Regions from separate parts of the Homo sapiens genome. Here region 1 is linked to region 2. Evidence: promoter capture Hi-C in 16 types of primary human blood cells and fetal thymus (Javierre and others, 2016). All regions are on one chromosome and are shown on one strand. Each heading gives the region's core, a stretch centred on a gene start or on the middle of the fragment in contact. The rest is flanking DNA. Distances are from core to core; before and after follow the strand shown. Region 1 overlaps HECA (hdc homolog, cell cycle regulator). Region 2 holds the start of TNFAIP3 (TNF alpha induced protein 3).

Region 1 (3,209 bases), core at 468-2,967, 1.3 Mb before region 2:
ACAAATTCCTATTGCCTAGTGACGTCCTAGTATACCTACCTCATTTTTCCCCTACATTTAGGGTAGCCTAAGTGTACAGTGTTTATCAAAGTCTACAGTAATGTAATGTCCTAGGCCTTCAGATTCACTCACTGACTCACCCAGAGTAACTTCCAGTCCTGAAAGCTCCTTTCATGTGTAAGTGGCCTACATGTGTGTACCACTGTTTATCTTTTGTACTGTATTTTTACTGTGCCTTTTCTATGTTTCTGTATGTTTAGATGCATAAATGCCATTGTGTTCCAATTGCCTACAGTATTCAACGAACCTGCTGTACAGGTTTGTAGCACAGAAGCAACAGGGTATACCATCTGGCCTACGTATGTAGTAGGCTATACTTTGTATAAGTACACTCTATGATGTACGCCTGATGATGAAATCGCCAAATGACACACTTCTTAGAATGTATCCCTGTCATTAAGCAATGCATGACTGTATATATACAACTGCGGAGAAACTGTCCAACCAGTTGTTAAACAATCCTATTTTTAAAGACTTCATGTCAGTCTTTAGTACTGTATTCCAATATTATCCTTGCTTAGGAAAATAAGCTTGATTTTGATTATCCATATTAATGTCCTCCTTTGTCAGCACAAATATTCAAAATGTGGCAATACTCAAACCTCTTTACTCATAGTTTATCTATGTGATTTTCATTTACCATGTAAATTACAACGCAGTGTAAATGCTGGACCTGCTTCTTCTCTCTTGATGAGCCCCAAAATGGTATTTGGAGGCCAAAGGCCATGGCCGATTTGGCCCCTTCCCCTTACCTCTGAAATCCCAATGACCTCTGCTGAAAAGACTAATGACTTTACCCCTTCCCTTGTCTGCCCAACAGGTAAAGCATAAGACTGCATGATTAACTGGCAACACGGGTCATCCGTAGACCAGTTACCGGTTAGAAAATACAACTCACAACTCCCTGCTGTTCAAAATATTCTAAAAGCTCAACTGATAATAGGTGATATGATGTCTATATATCCCCTAGATCAGAGTTCCAATGGGGCAGTTTGGCCTGCATTGTGTCTTAGTAAACCAGTCCAGAGTTTTTTTTTGGAATGTGAATCAGAATGCTGTTTTGGTGCAGCACACATTCTCCAGGTAGCTAAGACTCCCTCTCCACCCCATTCATATGCAGTCTGTCCTCTATATCTGTGGGTTCCACATCCATGGATTTGACCAATTGTCAATGGAAAATATTCATGGAAAAAAAACAGATGGTTGTGTCTGTATTGAACATACACAGGCTTATTTTTCTTGTCATTATTCCCTAAATACAGTATAACAACTATTTACATAGCAATTACATTGCTCTGATACCACAGAGCTAGGGAAAGGGGGAGGTACTAACCAAGTTAAAACACCACAGCTCACTGTTTTTATTATGATTCAGTCATTTCTCTTGAAAGAACACTCTTAGAATTACTGTAAGCCTTTGGTTAATTTCCAGAGTTCTGAAAAAGTTAATTTTGGTAATTCTTGGCAGTGTTCTTATTGCTTTCATGGAGGAGCAAATTTCTGGAGGCCCTTACTCTGCCATCTCAGAAGTCCATCTTAATAAAAATTTAAAAGTTTATATGTATATTTTGTTATAGGAAAATATGATAGGATGATCAATAAAATACTTCTAAGCAGGACAATACCCTGTCTTAGGATCAAATTCTGAGTACAAACTGAATGGAAATAAAGAAAAGAATGTAAAATTTCTATTATTTTTTTAGGCCGGGTGCGGTGGCTCCCACCTGTAATCCCAGCACTTTGGGAGGCTGAGGCGGGAGGATCACCTGAGGTCAGGAGTGACCAGCCTGACCAACATGGCGAAACCTCGTCTCTACTAAAAATACAAAAATTAGATGGGCATGGTGGCACGTGCCTGTAATCCCAGCTACTCGTGAGGCTGAGGCAGAAAAATCACTTGAACCTGGAAGGCGGAGACCGCAGTGAGCCGAGATCGCGCCACTGCACTCCAGCCTGGGCGACGAGAGCAAAACTCCCTCTCAAAAAAAAAAAAAAATTACATTATTTTTTAAATGGATGATAATGGTTACCAAGTTACTACGATAATTAGGATTCTGTTTGCATAAATTACAATGTTTACAATGAACTGGAAACTGTATCCTCAGCATCTATTTAAGTCTTTAGAAAACTGGGTGTGACAACTTAAAAATTTACAAGAACCCTGTTTTTTTTCTAATTCTCTTAGGAGATACACAGCAAAAAAAAGTTTGATTGATTAATACCTTCAGATCGGCATTCTGAAAACTTGACTATGATCACATCATACACACATTCAGAAACCTCAGAAACTCAGACTAATGCTCCAAGTTCTTGGGTCATGTTCAAGGAGCTCCTGTAATTAGGCCCCAGCCTTGCTTTTCCATCTGATCACCAGCTAGGGTAAAGTCTCTGCTTCAGCCTTGGCCCATTCCTGTGGCTGTAACATGGAAATTAGGTAAGACACAGGAGTGGACAAAGAAGCTAACTGCAGCCCACTGATGCTCCACACTGTGCCTCAAATTCACAGGGTGTTTAGGAATCATTTCCTATATACTACTATGTACCCACAAAAATTAAAAATAAAAAGAAATTTAAAGAATCATTTCCTGATTAACCGGCAAGTATTATTTAAATGAAAACTCAAAAGGTTTTAATATAAATTTCCTCAAATATTTTTAAGACCTTTTTTCTACTAAAAATAAAGACACTAAGCACTACACATAAAGGAAGGCTAGTACTTACAAAAATATTTTGTCAACTTGTTTTAATTAGTATAGGAGCTACAATGAGATCACTTAAGCTTATCTGTCTTAACCTTTGATGTAATTTAACCTCCCCTTATGTTATTTTAGTGTGTGAACCTGCTCCAAAGTGAGTAGCAAATTGAGCACAAGGCAATTACATTCAGTTAAACATGTTTTTCTTTGCTTACAGTAGGATTTAAACGAAAAGCTTTTACTCAGGCAAACCACTCTGTCAAAATAAACATGGAAGCTACACACACACACACACACACACACACATCCAATGCTTCAATACAGTTTACAACTTGGGTTTTTAACATTCTCTTAATATATTTAGTCTGTTCTCCTAGACCCACCCTTTTCTTACTTTGAAATTAAAACCCACAAGTCTACCCAGCCTCAAATTCAAACTAAATAAAAAACTCT
Region 2 (3,210 bases), core at 285-2,784:
TGGACCACTCTACGCTTAAGATTAAAGAACAAATGTTTCAGATACGTTATAAGTGGCAAACAATGCAATATTACCCTTAACTTTTTTTTTTTTAACATTTGTTACCTCACTGTCTTATTTAAAGGTAGTTTCTCAACTTTTGTCACTAGGATTCCACAGAACTTCTCCGTTACTCAAACTCTTCTCCCCCTTGTTTTATTTTTCCACTCTGGGCAGACATTTTTGTCTGCATTGTGGAAATTGATGAATTATTTATCAACAAATACCTCATCCAAATTTGGGGATGTGCCTCTCCAAAAAATCAAAAATAGTACAAAGAATTGAAAAAAAAATCAAAGCAGCACCTTAAACAATGAGAATGAAGCATTCATTGGCTGCTCAATAATCTGGTACATTAAGGTTGCGGTCCAGAAGTCCCTTTAATTAACAATGGTTCTGCCAAAATGCTACCCTGAGACACTTGACCAGACTGGCTTTCCAAGGCAAGAAGATCTGAGGCGAGGAGAACCGAAAACAAAGCGGGCTCAAAAAGAGTTAAGCTCCTTCCTTACTTAATGCCACTGCTTTTCTGAGAGGCCAGGTGGCAGGATGTGGGACGACTCCAGCTGACAAAGACAGTCTAACCGTGGGGTAGGGGCTGGAGCAGGGGCCAGCGACCCACGTCTACATGCATACTTCTCTTACACTGCTGCTACTGGAAAAGCTGAACCCCGCGCCAGGACCCCAGCCCCCTGCAAGGACCCGTGAGCGTCTGGGAAGCTGTCTCTGGGACTGAAGCCCCCCACCTCCGCCGGGCTGGCGGCCACTGCGGTACCCTACGCCCCGTCGGGCTGGTCCTGCACAATTTGGGAAAAAGCCGCAGCGCTTCTGCAAGGTCTACGTGGCCATGAGCATGCAACGCTTGGCTCCAAAAAAGACACGAAAGGAGCAAAGCGCCAACGACCACCCGATCGGAGGGCCCGAGGGGCGCCTCTTCACCAGTCAGCTGCAGCTTAAGTTCCGTGCATTATCTGAAAGGAACAGCTGGCTGGAGGTATCCAGGGCTGTCACTCCAACCTCTGCAGCAGTGACCTCAACTCCCAGCACTTCAAAACCCAGACAGAAACGTCCAACAAACTCCCAGTCCAGGAGCGCTGCAAAACCAACGCCAGGTAGACGGTGCCAGCCCGGGGGTCGCTGCCCAACATGCACCCGCAGCCCTTGACTGCGGTGAGCCCGAGGCAGACGGCACGGGGAGGCGCGGCGGTTACCTCTCCGGGAGGCGCGGCGGTTACCTCTCCGGGAGGCGCGGCGGTTACCTCTCCGGGCCCCGCGATCCTTTCGCAAAGTCCCAAGTCCTGGTCAAGGCAGGAGCGCGCCGCAGGCGGGGGTCGGGGCAGGGACCGGGCGGAGGCGACGCTCCATGGACGCCTGGGGTCGGGCTCGCTCGCTGGCAGGGTCGGCTGGGGGTGTGATCTCTCTTGGCGGCCGCTCTCACCGCTCCGCCCCCGCGGGCTCCAAGCTCGCTTGGCCCGCCACGAAGACTGCAGACTGCGCAGTCTGCTTTGCCCCGTTTCAGTTGTATGCGGGTTGTAGGCCCGGGGATTTCCACGGGACTTTCCAAAGTCACGTGACTCTCTGGGTCGGGCTGCGAAGTGCGTCCAGCCGGCCGCCAGAGGGCGCAGGGGGCGAGGGGCGCGCGCGGCCTCCGCCCGACCGGGCCTGCGGGCCCCGCCCCGCCCCCTTTCCCTGCCCCGCCCCGCTGCCCCGCCCCGCCCGGTCCCTGCAGGCGCCCGGAGAAACTCCCTCGCCCCGCCCCGGGGTGTCCCCGCGTGAGTCACCTGGGCATTTCGGAAGCTGGGGTCACGTCACATCCATGTGGAAATCGCGGTGATGGGAACTGGAAATGAAATAGGTTCTTTTTCGCAGTTGTTTTTCTGCAGAAAATCATCAACTGTGGAGAAGAAGAAGGGAAATAAGAAAGAAAGAAAACCCTAAAAACCACCCTGGCGCCCGGGCCCGCAGGCCTCGGGCCGGCTCTGAAAAGTTTGGGCTGTGCACGTGATGAGCGCGTAGGCGGGAGCCCCAGACAGGACCCGGGCGGGCATTTCGAGAAAAAGCAGCGGTGACAGCCTTTGGTCCCCATCTCCATTGTTCCTGCCAGCTCTGGACCCCAGGCTGCATGAGACGTAGGTCCCAGGGGACACCCGACCCCGTGGCCCCAGTCTTAGGTAAACTTAGGAATCAGAACAACACTCACCCCTATGCCGCGCTTGCTCCATTTCCCCTTGTCTATTTCTGCTCACCAAGCATCCAGCTGACATTGCATTCAAAGCAGCATTTCAGCTTAGAAATCGCTTCTAGTCCATCACGGTGCTTGCCATGTGTCTCCAAGGCTTTATTAGGTGTGTTTTTAGTTGTCCTGATAATCAGTTCACCCCAGGGTGCTGATGGCTGATAATACTGGCGCTTCCCTCCCTACCCCCATGCGTTGCACAGGGAGGGTGAGTCATGTGGAGATGGATGCAGCCCCCTGGGCAGTGGGGGTGCAGGTGCTGTGCAGGGAGGAGTCTTAGGGCGTTTTTACTGTCTTACTGCCCTCTAAGCACGGGACCCTTTGGATCATTTACTAGATTGGCTAAACTAGAACCGGATGGAAATATTCTGTACTATGGTCCCCTTAATTACATTTAAGAATACTTGTCAGGCCATATATCACAGGTTTTTAATTAGAAAAGTATCCTCCTCTCGCCAGTAAGGACTTGCAGAGATGGGGGTGGGGGCTGGATGGAGGGTGGCACTTTTTTGGCAAAAAGAAGTTTGGAGCAGAGTGTCACTAGTGGCCTCTCTGAAGACTGGTCCTCGTCTTTTAAAACCGATGGCTGGAATTTCTTCCAGTTCCAAACCTCTTGTTATTTGTCCTCTCTTCTTGTTCACAAATGTGCTATCAACATTCAAACAATGGATAGTCAGCTATCCATTGTAAATGGACCTTGCTGGAGTCCAGGGCTAGCAGAAATGACAGGGTCTAAAATGACATTTATCAAGTACTTGCTATATGCTTATATATGCTTTTTATATGAAGGTTAAGAAGCTTGAGGCATTTGCCCAGTTTCCACAACCAAAAGGGGCAGAGTCGCCAGTGGCATTAAGCCTGTGTTACTCCAAAGCCCATAATGACCAGTCTTACTAGACCATTCCTCTCAGGAAAGATCCTGTGAGACAGGTACT

Evidence for each region. The method cuts DNA at HindIII sites, captures the fragments that hold promoters and counts their contacts. A CHiCAGO score of 5 or more calls a contact.
Region 1: a contact is called between a fragment that was not itself captured here and the fragment with the promoter of TNFAIP3 in region 2, in 1 of 17 cell types (activated CD4 T cells). The highest score is 5.6, in activated CD4 T cells.

The regions. Positions count from the first base shown.
Region 1 is chr6:139,152,272-139,155,480 of GRCh38, reverse strand. All of the region lies in intron 1 of HECA (hdc homolog, cell cycle regulator), which reads right to left. Among named protein-coding and RNA genes, the nearest start is that of HECA, 19 kb to the right of the region's middle. The HindIII fragment of the contact is 2,249 bases long and covers 593-2,841 here.
Region 2 is chr6:137,865,583-137,868,792 of GRCh38, reverse strand. TNFAIP3 (TNF alpha induced protein 3) reads right to left here and starts at 1,534. Exons shown (of 9, transcript NM_001270508.2): 1 at 1,251-1,534. It overlaps WAKMAR2 (wound and keratinocyte migration associated lncRNA 2), which reads left to right and starts at 560. Exons shown (of 4, transcript NR_049793.1): 1 at 560-1,151; 2 at 1,909-2,210. RefSeq lists silencers at 988-1,087, 1,228-1,397, 1,638-1,777 and an enhancer at 1,858-1,997. The HindIII fragment of the contact is 5,781 bases long and covers 1-3,075 here.